3 separate regions of the Homo sapiens genome follow, and all the other regions are linked to region 1. Evidence: promoter capture Hi-C in 16 types of primary human blood cells and fetal thymus (Javierre and others, 2016). All regions are on one chromosome and are shown on one strand. The core of a region is centred on a gene start or on the middle of the fragment in contact, and the rest is flanking DNA. Distances in the headings are between cores, read along the strand shown. Region 1 holds the start of DUSP22 (dual specificity phosphatase 22). Region 2 overlaps EXOC2 (exocyst complex component 2). Region 3 overlaps EXOC2 (exocyst complex component 2).

The links. The method cuts DNA at HindIII sites, captures the fragments that hold promoters and counts their contacts. A CHiCAGO score of 5 or more calls a contact.
Region 2: a fragment that was not itself captured here is called in contact with the fragment with the promoter of DUSP22 in region 1 in 6 of 17 cell types (activated CD4 T cells, total CD8 T cells, naive CD8 T cells and 3 more); the score reaches 9.7 in activated CD4 T cells.
Region 3: a fragment that was not itself captured here is called in contact with the fragment with the promoter of DUSP22 in region 1 in 1 of 17 cell types (activated CD4 T cells); the score reaches 8.4 in activated CD4 T cells.

What each region holds. Positions count from the first base shown.
Region 1 is chr6:291,237-295,086 of GRCh38, forward strand. DUSP22 (dual specificity phosphatase 22) reads left to right here and starts at 1,251. Exons shown (of 7, transcript NM_001286555.3): 1 at 1,251-1,324. The coding sequence starts at 1,304. RefSeq lists enhancers at 214-503, 430-930, 931-1,431, 1,724-1,983 and silencers at 614-1,633, 2,378-2,534, 2,414-2,473, 2,484-2,543. The HindIII fragment of the contact is 6,707 bases long and covers 1-3,850 here.
Region 2 is chr6:561,676-565,644 of GRCh38, forward strand. EXOC2 (exocyst complex component 2) reads right to left here. Exons shown (of 28, transcript NM_018303.6): 14 at 3,189-3,254; 15 at 2,870-3,027; 16 at 2,358-2,479; 17 at 1,109-1,170. Among named protein-coding and RNA genes, the nearest start is that of HUS1B, 93 kb to the right of the region's middle. RefSeq lists an enhancer at 2,046-3,245. The HindIII fragment of the contact is 765 bases long and covers 992-1,756 here.
Region 3 is chr6:583,610-587,341 of GRCh38, forward strand. The region is part of intron 11 of EXOC2 (exocyst complex component 2); the gene reads right to left. Among named protein-coding and RNA genes, the nearest start is that of HUS1B, 72 kb to the right of the region's middle. RefSeq lists an enhancer at 1-261. The HindIII fragment of the contact is 1,934 bases long and covers 432-2,365 here.

The DNA of each region.
Region 1 (3,850 bases), core at 1-2,500:
GGCAGGTATGCAGAGAGCTGGGGATCCAGGTGTCTGGATAGAGAGCACAGCCCAGCAAGCCTGACAGGCTCAAGGAACAGACAGGAGACCAGCATGTGTGTAACTCGCTTAGCAAGAAGATAAAATGAAGTCAGCAGGGGTGAGCCAGGGCACGTCAGATTGACGCATGTACTCATTCAGCAAATATTTATTAAGCACCTACTATGTTCAGGACATTGTTGAGGATACATAAATTAAGAAGAAAAACCACTGGCTCAAGGATTCTGTCGCTGGAGAGAAACTTCAGAGTTTAATAACGTTGATAGAACACCCAAAACAATTCTGCTACAGTTTAGAAATTGATCCATTCCAGACAGAACCACAATGCAGACATTAAGGGACACACATCATCTAAGGCCGTGAGGTCTGAGGTCAGAGATCCAGCCATCTGCTCCCCCAGGGTAGGGAGGTCGGGCCTCCCCGGGGTGAGTCACGTAGCCCACCTCTCCCCACCAGGCGAGGCTTCTCGGTCTTGGTGCATGGGGCAGGGCCGCAGGAAATCCCCCAGCCTAAATCTGCCGCACTCAGAAAACCCAGGCAGGGGAGCCCCCAGAGACCAGGCCTCTGATTAGCACCTGATTCACGGAGGCAGCCAAGGCTGGGTAGCGACTGCTGGTAACTGGCCCCCGGAGTCGCCCCAGGGGAAAAGGCCAAAGGGGGATCTGGAGACCCCCGGCCGGGGAGCGGGCTCCGAGACGAGCGCAGCCGCCCGGTCAGGGCAGCGCCTGCGCGTCCGCCAGGCCCCGCCGCGCAGCCTCGGGTGTCCCGGCGGGGCGGCTCGGGCCGCGCACGCGCTCTGGCCTCCGGGGCCGGCCGCCTGGGAGCCCGAGCCTAGTGCCTCCCACGCCCGGCGGCCGCGAGCCGGGGTCCGCGAGGGCGGAGTGGGGCGCGGCAGCCAGGAACCCGACTACGAATCCCAGGGTGCGGGCGGGCGGAGCGAGGAGGGACGCTGGGCCTGCCCGGTGCGCACGGGGGCGGGGACCGGCAAGGCGGGACCATTTCCCGGCATAGGCTCCGGTGCCCCTGCCCGGCTCCCGCCGGGAAGTTCTAGGCCGCCGCACAGAAAGCCCTGCCCTCCACGCCGGGTCTCTGGAGCGCCCTGGGTTGCCCGGCCGGTCCCTGCCGCTGACTTGTTGACACTGCGAGCACTCAGTCCCTCCCGCGCGCCTCCTCCCCGCCCGCCCCGCCGCTCCTCCTCCCTGTAACATGCCATAGTGCGCCTGCGACCACACGGCCGGGGCGCTAGCGTTCGCCTTCAGCCACCATGGGGAATGGGATGAACAAGGTAACGTCTTCCCTCGTTCGCGCTGGGTTTGCCTCCGCTCCGACGCCCTGCCGTCTCGCCGGCGTCGGCTGCCCGACGACTCGAGCCCGGGGTGCCCTTTCCCGCGGTGGGGACGGGCGCGGAGGGAGGGGCGGCGCGCCTGGGCGGCGACCGCGGAGTCGGGGTTCGGAGGTGTTCCCGCCCCCACCCCACCCGGCTTCCGGGTAGGCAGCCCCCAGCCGCCTGCCTTGCCAGCCGGTGCGTTTTCGTGGCTGAAACAAGCCGCGCCCTTTGAAAGCGTTGACACTTGTTCTGCCGAGAGGTCAGCTGAGCTCCGAATGGATGTGGCTTCTTTTTTGCCCTCCTCTTCGCTCCCAAACTACGCTCTTGAAGCCACCACCGCCCCCCCCACATCATTAGTAAACGGGTGTCCTCTGTAATTTCCTCTTTCTCCTCAGATTCTGTGTGTGTGCCTGTGAGCACAGAGAAGTTTTTCTTGTGGACAGAGAAGTTAACAGAGTCCTAAGTCCTGAGCTGTTTCTAGATAGTGGGGAGGAGAGAAAAGATTCAGAGTTGATTAGGTTATGTGACTTCTGCAACAAGGGCAACCTGTTGCTGGCTGCTTGCGCTGATGAGGCCTTCTGGAAAATCTGTGTTGCTCCATTTGTCCCGTCCGTTTCTGGGCCCCACCCTGTGTTCTTTTGTTGCCCGCACCTCACTTCCCGGGCGGTGGGCTAGCCTTTCCCGTCCAGGGAAGTTGCCAGATTCCAGCTCTGGCAGCTGAGAGTTGCCGGGGTGTATTCATGTGAACCACAGGGTTAAGGATTTTGTTACTTGGTACTTGGCTGGTTTCGAGGAAGGATTGACAAGACTTTACAAAGCCCGCAACAAAGACAAGTACCTTTTTACGGGTCTTTGAATGGTCCTGGATTAGATGAGTCGTCTTTCTGCTTCACTTTTTCATTGCGCTCCACCCACCCACATCTCTACATGCCGTCAGCTTCCACACTGGGTGGGGATGGCAATGTGGCTGTGTTTTTTTTCATGTCCCTCAGCACTGGGTCAGCAGTGGTTTGGGTGTTGGGGCTGGAGTGTTGCAAATGCGGATTCACGGTAGGGCAGGGAAAACCTAGCTAACTTTTCACGTGCGCATGTCGTGTTTATTGTGTCCTGGTTACCCAGTTTGTGAAAGAACTATTGTGTGTTTGGGACCTGCATATCAATACTGGGGTATTTTGGTAAAGAGAATTGTATTCACTTTTTTTTTTTTTTTTTTTTTGGCGAGTGATCAAGTTTGGAAACAGACTGTCTCTCTCTTGGATAAATACTTGTATTATATTCCGATGAGCACTGGAATCCATCAGCACCACGAGCCTTCTGCTTTTTAAATTAAAACAGAACAATAAAGATGGTCATCATAAGTCTGTGGGCTCCGTTTGCCTTCCCATTGGTGGTGGTATCTCAGCTTTCCTTTGGCTGTTTCTAGTTTTCCCACTTGAGCTGTTCACTCTCCACCGTTTTCAGCATTTAATTTATAGTATTTGTGTAATACAATTCAAAAAATATATTTAGGAATACAGATGGTTGCCTAAGGGATCAACGTTATTTTCATGCTTTTCAACAAAAGCAGTAATATTCATATACTTTTTACCTTTCAAAATGGGTAATAAATTTCTTGACTTTTATTATCTTGTGAATAGAGACTCACAGTGTATCAATGAAGAAATACATGTATAGAGAGATTTAGAGACTTCCCTGCTTCAACACTTATTGATTATGTACATACTATGAGCCAGGTGTTGTGCTAGTGGGTGGGGAGGGGGCAAAGGGAGTACAGTGGTAAATGACCCAAAGATTCTTCACAGAACCTTCAGTACAGGTCAGCATTGTCCAGCACTAATATGATGCGAGCTATATATGTAACTTAAAATGTTCCGGTAGCCACATTAAAAAATAAACCGGTGAAATTAATTTTAATAATATATTTTATTTAACAATATATTAAAACTATTGTTTCAACATGTAACCAATATATAAAGTTATTCATGGAAGATTCCATGTTTTTTACTATGTCTTTGTGAAAGGAAAAATCTCGGGACCCCCAGATCACTTAACCTTCAAAGTCTAGTGTGTATTTTATGCCTAAATCACATCTCATTTTGGACTAGCCACATTTGGAGTACTCGATAGTCACTGTGGCTAATGGCTGCTGTGTTGCACAACACAGGGTGTGTATGTGTGTGGGGGTGAGAGAGAGAACAAACACAAGGTAGGGAGGAGTAGAGGCTCCAGAGGATAAAATAGGCAATTTCAGAAAAGTGGGGAAAGCAGAAGATGGGATGAAAGTGACCTAGAAGGGGCATTCAGCCCAGGCAAGGAATCCTGCTGCAGTAAACATGTTTAACGTGAGATCAGGAGGAACTACCCCAAATCACAAGGTTCATTAGTGGCAAAGTAGATCGCAGGAGGCCAGTAACTTAAGAACCTTAACTAGAACTTTTCCATATATTACTGTGTGACTTGGAACGAGGCTTCATCTGTAAAAAA
Region 2 (3,969 bases), core at 124-2,623, 270 kb after region 1:
CCTGGGTTCAAGTGATTCTCCTGCCTCAGCCTCCTGAGTAGCTAGGATTACAGGCGCCCACCACCATGCCCAGCAAAATTTTGTATTTTTAGTAGAGACGGGGTTTCAGCATGTTGGCCAGGATGGTCTCGCTCTTGACCTCATGATCCGCCCACCTCGGCCTCCAAAAGTGCTGGGATTATAGGCGTGAGCCACCGCACCCAGCCTATCCTTTTTTCTTAATAAGGTAAGACAGAAAACAGGAGCAGCCACGTGCTCTCCCGACCTCTGTTGCCAACAGGGACAGGCATGGAATGTGTTCTGACCAATTAGATGGAGGAGAGTTGCAAGTTATGGCTCCTGGGAGGGGACTGGACTTTCTTCCTGACAGCAGCCAGGCCACGAGTGACCCCGAGGCCAGCCTGAGTAGAAGGCAGTGTGAAGGGTCACAGGGAAGAAGGATGGAGGCAGCCCTGGGCACTGACTGTGTGACCACGCTGCCAGGCTGCTGTGAGAGACAGAAGTCCCCCCCTGGTGAAAGCCACTGGGATGTGTCGGCCGCTGCCTGGCCATCGTCACTGGCACAGCCACCCACAGGACCGCGAGGGGCACCCGTGAGACAAGTGTGAAAACCCGTGAAATCATGAAGATGATTTTTAAACCTAAAAGTCCCAGCTGAAAAGATGAAGATTCTAGAAACAGGTCACAGTTGGCTGCCTGGCCTGAGAATGTATCTGCAGTGGTCTGTGGTGGTTGTTTTTGTTTGTTTGGTTTGTTTTGGCTTTGGAGCCAGCAACGTCATCTCTTCTATCCTGCTTTCCGGAAAAGCTCAAGTTGCTGAGTAATTTAGAATTGAGCATACTCTGTTTTTAAAAAACTAATTCAAACAAAAATCGTAAGTTATACAGGATGAAAAAGGTCAAGTCTAAAAGAAACGCATTGTTCTCATTAATTTTTCAATATTTATGGTTCGTGTTAAGCAAAAATGTCTCTGAGAAGAAAACCTTTAAGAAGCTTCTATTTCTATTTAGAGCTGCAACACATGGAGCACATGCTCCCTATTAATATGATAAACTATTTATTTTAAATACACACTAATGACTAATAATTGAAAAGAACTTAAACTTACTAGAGAAGTCAGTCCTTCATTGTCAACAATCCAGTCTTCTTTTTCAGCTAATCTCTTTATTTCTATATGAGAAGAAGCACACAAATACTTTATTATAATTATCTCACTAAATTTTATACAGATTAAAAATGTATACAGGTTATGGTTTTTCATTGTTTTATATAGGTTTGTAAAAACTCGATGAAAGTAGGCAAAGAATATAATTTTGGTAGACTTGATGATTTAAGTACATATTGTTCACTGGATGATTCTACTAAGATATTAATGTGAATAAAAGTTTTTACTGTATAGCCCAATTTGGGGAATTCTACGTTGGATTTAATGACAACTTGAGACAATCATTTATTACTTATTCAGGATTCTTCACAACACTAGGCATGTACAAAATAAGTCATACAGTATTTTTTTTCCTAAAATTTCTGATGAGTAATTTGGCTGTTTTTTGAATCCTACAGATTCCTGACAAGGGCAATATGATTCTCAGTTGGCTAAGGGAATGCCACCTGCTCAAACCTTCGGCCTTGGGGCAGGCTCAGGTTCCTAGGTGAGGAGGAGGTAATCAACTAAGAGGGGAATATCCAACTTCTCACCTGGGTTCCATTCCCTTCCCATTTACACAGTATCGCCCACCAATTTTGCAGAGATGTAAGCTTCCTACCTAAAAAGCCAAGCCTGGTAGTAGATAGTAAAGGCCTGTGCCATTTTAGCAATGTTCTTATTTTTGAAAATATTTAATAACTAAAAGGCTGCTTTGTAAAGAAAACCTTTATGGTTTTTTTATGATTTTATGTAGAAAAGCCTGAAAAATTTAAAAAGTATAAAGAAAACAAGAATCATCTATAATTTCTGGAATCCAGAGAACCAACACTAACAGAGTTTCCTTTGATTGGACATTGATTTCTGTAAATTAAAATTTAAAAATATACATCCATATATTTTCAAAAGTGAGATCAGACTTTATGTACATTTTATACCCTATGTTTTCTACTTAACATTTATCATAACAATATTCTTATATCTTTAAACATTTTCAAGTGTATCCATCTTAGTTTCTGCATGGTCTTAATTCTCAACAATACATCACAAAAAGAAAAAACACTTATTGAGCAGCTAGAAATAAGATGAACTAATATATTCCAATTTCCAGAAGAGTAATTTTCCCTTGTTTTCAAGGATTTGGACACTGAAAGGAGGTGGCACATTCAGATAATCATTGCACAGTGAACGTCACCGATTTATCAAAACACACCTTCCGCCGTGTGCTGCAACGTGGCCATTACGCAACGTACTCGGAGATCCAAGATGAGATCCTGGATAGTCTGTAACAGGTCATTAGGAATTTCAAGGGCAGTCAACGATTCATGAGTAAGTCTGCGAACAAACACATCCAAACAGAAGTGAGCAGAGTGGGATCGCAAAGCAATCCCTAGCATCTCTTTCACTGTATAATCATTCCTCACGGAGCTTACGAGCTACAGCATTAGGCTGAAAACAGAAACAGACCACAACTGGGACTGTACTGTCAGAGTAATACTGAGTGAAACAACGGAGAAGATGCGTAAACTCAAGAACATTCTAGTCCAACACAAAAACCAGGAACAGTGAGGAGCTTAGCTGTCAGATGATGAACAGGAAACAGTGGAGGCAAAAGGACAAAAAGAAGAAAAAGAAGAATTTCTTCTTCACTGAATGTATTAATTCTTTCCAAAAAGTTAAAAAAAACAGAAGTACGCCTTTCTCTGAGAATGTGTCCATACTCACCTTACAGTCTGGATGGCGTGAGCGAGCCACTGTCCGGAGAGCTCGCACTTCACCTCCCAGCCTCCGTACTGCTTGGCTTCCCCATCCCGGATGCTGAGGGGAAGCAGGGCTCCGCGGGTAAGCTTCACCAGGGAGTGCATTACTTCCTGAATCATTTTCTAGAAAACCAGGAACAAGCATAACCGTGTTCAAATGTGATTAATCGGGTTACATTAACTAAAAGATGCTGCCTGGGCAGTAATGGATGTCTTGAATACAAAGTGAGAAAGGAAAAACCCTACCCTGTGAAAAGGTCTACATACTTATCACCCTTACTCACCTTAAAATCATTTTGTCTTTGCCTTACATTCTTTGATCTTTCAATCTGGCCTGACTTCTCAGCAGTCTTAAAAATTAAAAAAACAAAATAAAACATATTAGAAATAATTTAAAAATAAGAAATGCTTTAGCACTTGTACATCAAGAGAACATTAAATATGGTTATAACTTGATTAAAAGAAATGCTTAAGACATAATCTATGTTTCTGATTAAAGAATGATTCATTAGAAAACCTTTCTTATCCCAATGAGAAGTTATTTATCTTTCTAAAACCTTTACGTACAATTCCCATGAATGAATCCAAGAATTAAGTTGAAACTACCGATTTTACAGGTGAATTTCATCTACCATTTTCACCAACGATGTCGTATGGTTAAACCATCAGGTATCATACCCACGACAACACTGTCAACATCATTTCTCATTAGCTAGTAAAGAAACCAAAGGAAGCCTAAACTCTGAAATCTGTCATTTTAGTTTTAAATACTATAAACTATGGCTCTTCCTTCAGAGATTTCAGTGTAATTTAGGATAAAATACATTCTATCATTCTAGAATTAATTTTTGTTTGTTTACTGATATAACTCATGTTTTTTTCCATTGTCTCTTTCCCCTTAATGTATGGAAAACTACTTTATATTGACTAAAAGAGAAGCCTGTTCAGTTGGATTTCAGAGAACTGTTTATTAACAAATTTTCTAACTAAATATTTTTATATAAAATAACCTAGAAGGACAAGCCCAGGAAGCTTTCTAAATAAAGAAGCATTAACAAAATTATA
Region 3 (3,732 bases), core at 149-2,648, 290 kb after region 1:
CCCAGGTTACTGACTTCTTCCACTTCCCTCTCCTGAATCTACTTTCTCACTGTGTGCACATACGCTGCATACATAGCGCAGCTTATACATCTTAAAGCAGGTAAATAAAACCCCACTAAGCATTTCATCTTCCAAAGACAATTTTGAAAAACTCTGTCATCACAGCATGCAAACGAACAAGTGCACAGCAGAAGCCTTCCCTGGAGGTCCGCCCACTGGCAGCCGTACACAGGTCACAAAGGCACCACCCCAGTGCTGAGCTGCAGGGAGGGCAAGATGGAAAGAAACTAGCATCTCATATCTGTGCTCGCTGCAGTTGTGCCTTTCCTTTTTTTAAACCAACCTCTCTCAACCTGGGTTCAGGCTGTGATCAATATTCAGGAGAGAAACAATTTTTTAAATCTCTAGAAAATTAACTCCATAAAAAAAGAAGCTTCCTAATGTGCAACCTTATTATGATAACTTTAAAATTAAAATGATAATTTTATTAAAAGATTTAGCACATATACAACAATACACTTACACTGACTTTTTAACTATGAAATTATTTGCGTGGTTCCACAGAAAATTCAATGAATCTGCTAATGGTTTCCTAATGGGGGCTGTAATTTAATCTCGCATACAGGAAGTCTACCTGACCCTGCATTATGGTAATACCAGAATTATATGTAATATTAACCCCAATAATATTTGTAAAAATGATATAAAATATGTACGTAAAGGTCCTAGCTGTATTTTTTAAAATAGCAAGATATAACAGTTTATACTATGTAAATTCAAAATCATAAATTGTAATACTATGATTTATGCATGTATGTTATGAGCTTGTACTGAAAATATGGACTTTGTGTATCTTAAGGTTCTTGGAGTAACATAAATGTTTTTATTTCTTTCAGCAAGTAATTAATACTCTAGTGAGTGTCAGAAATTATTAAAAGGGTAGATGTTTAGCACAGCCTGTTATTCAGTTTTCTTTCTATAATAGCTCCACCACTGTGAAGACTCGAAATAAACCACTCAGATGGAACATACCATCTCTAAGTTTTCAAAGAGAACCTGAGCCAGGTATAAATGTCTTTTCTTCTGCTCTGCGGCTATTCTCGAGAACTTACTGCTTACTTAACAGTGTGGCCATGTTCTAAATGTTGCCTACTGAACCCTAATTCTAATGATGTCCTTTTAGAAGTTCTAATTAAGTGCATCTCTGAAAGAAGGTAACACTTTCTCTATGAGTAGCCTGATGCCTTCTCCCTTAAGTTATCAGACATAGCCAGCATATATTTTAACTCACATTCAGAACAAAGAAAAAAACACCTTTGAAGACCACCTTTAAAAATCCTGTTTGTGAATGTCAGTAGGGGGTTAACCAAAGGCTTTTCCTGGCAGGAAACCTCTGAAGACGCAGTCTAATTTTGGACCTATTTCACAGGAATTTTAAGAGACGGGTGACACTTCTTAATAAGGTAGTAAAAGTTTAACATGTATAACAATTCAGAACACAAGGCTGCTTTGAACATAGGGGAAGAGAAGCAAAATGGTTAACCTGTTCAGGCTGGACAAACACCATAAACTCTTCCATCAGTATTTAGAAGGTTTCAAGATGAGTTTTTAAAATATTAACCTTAGTTTTGCTCTTGTTTTTCCCATCTTTTTCCACCCTTAGAAAAACCTAAATGATCACATTTGGGCTACAGAGTTAGAGGATGCAAGAGGCATGTGGAGCGTTTGGGGGTAAAGGACCAGGTGTGTGAGGTGCAAGGGTGAGCTCCTGTCCTGGCCTCGTGTTATACTCCGAAGGGCACCATCTGCTAGCACCAGTGTATATTATTACTACAAAAACGAGTCCAGACAAGGATCTAATGCAGGACTCATAGAATTATCAACTGTACGGCAAACTCTGCTGCCAAATGCTTCATCTACAAAAGGAGCTTTCTCGGAAAAAGGTAGCTTTGTATGTAGGACTGCTGTCTCTGAAAATCTGTCACCATCTTTGCTCATAACATTTTCTCTGAATACCACAGGGCTACATACAATTAACATTTTTTTCCCAAACCACCAAAGTGAAAAGCAAAAGTCTTTGCTTTAAAAAAGCAGACTTAAAAAAATATTTATATGTTAGATTTCTTAGATTCATGCACAAAGACCACATTTACTTTAAACAGACATCAAGAATTATTTTTCCGTTTGAAATATTTATAGTCTATCCATTTAAAATTGCATTTCATTTCACAAAGCTATTCTTCTTCTTATCCATTGTTCTGCTAGTGGATTTACCTAAACAACTTTACAGTGTTAGTAGTCTAAGTACAGATATTATAATAAAGGAACTACTTAAAACTTGTTTTCTTTATATTGGAATGTAGTAAGCTTTCATTTTAAAAGCAGGCTCCTGAGAAAACCCGCATAAAAACAATGTAGCTTTATAACAAAGTACCAGATAAAATGTAGGCAGTCCTTTTACCGCAGATCATTTGTAAGCAATTTCTTACGGTAGTAATTGTGTTTTCAAATGCTCTAGCCTTCAGTAGACAGCTATAATCAATTCAAGGAAACAGCAGGTGCCAAGCAAACAAGTAAGTACTCTGTCACCGAGCCCCGGGCATCAGAAAATAACCAGACACACTCGAGTCAAGAGAGAGGTGGCATCCGCTGCAGGCTGCCGGCTCTGAAGCTTTACATCCAATGTATGTGCCATGAGTTCCTTTGGCTCTGATGGGGGCACTGCGGGCCTTCCCAGGGACAGCCTTACATTTCCCAGGATCCCTCCTAAGGGACTGGATGCTCTCTCACTCACCTCCATTTTCTTAACTTGCTCATTCTCAGAGCATTTATTTACATTGCACATATAATTTTAGAAGTGAGTGATGAGGTCTGTGTAAAATTTCCTTAATAGAATTCACCTATGTATAGCAAAATAGCATAAAAGTAATAAAGACCAGAAGCACTTCATCGAGCTTGGCTAGTTTCAGGTGCAGCTCTTCATGAATCCCCAAATACCAGCCAGCCTTCCCTTACCAGGGGAACGCTCACCTGCTCTGACATCACATTGAGAAATCCTGTTTGATGCAATATTTGCTCCAACAATGTAACTCAGAGGGAGGTGTTCAGTAACCTATTCCATAACTCACTGGTCTGGAGGGAGTGTGATCAGGTGAGAGGGGGAGTGACCTGGACACCCACTAGTCCCACCCCTGCTCAGGATACGGAGGACGTGTCTGGACACCCACTAGTCCCACCCCTACTCAGGATACGGAGGACGTGGGTCTGTCCTGTGGCTTCTCTGAGACACCTTTGTCACATGCGAAATAGAGCTAAAGGCATCCACAAAACTAGACAGTTTCCCAGATTTCTTCCACATCTAAAATGTCACAATTATGAGAGGATGCTCAAAGGAAATTCCAAACAATATTTAGTAGGCATTCCCCCATATTACCTTACATTTATATTATATATAATTAGGACAATAATAAAACATCCACCAAGGGTCCCTAGTCAACAACAGTTGTAGATCACACAAAAGAAAATTTGTGTGTATTCCCAGCAAACTTATAATTAAGGCAAATATTTTATATAAACACACGCACACATACACAAACATAGATATGACATTACCTGTAGATGTAAATGTAGATATGTGTATTTTTTTTTTTTTTGAGACGGAGTCTTGCTCTGTCGCCCAGGCTGGAGTGCAGTGGCACAATCTGGGCTCAGTGCAAGCTCCGCCTCCCAGGT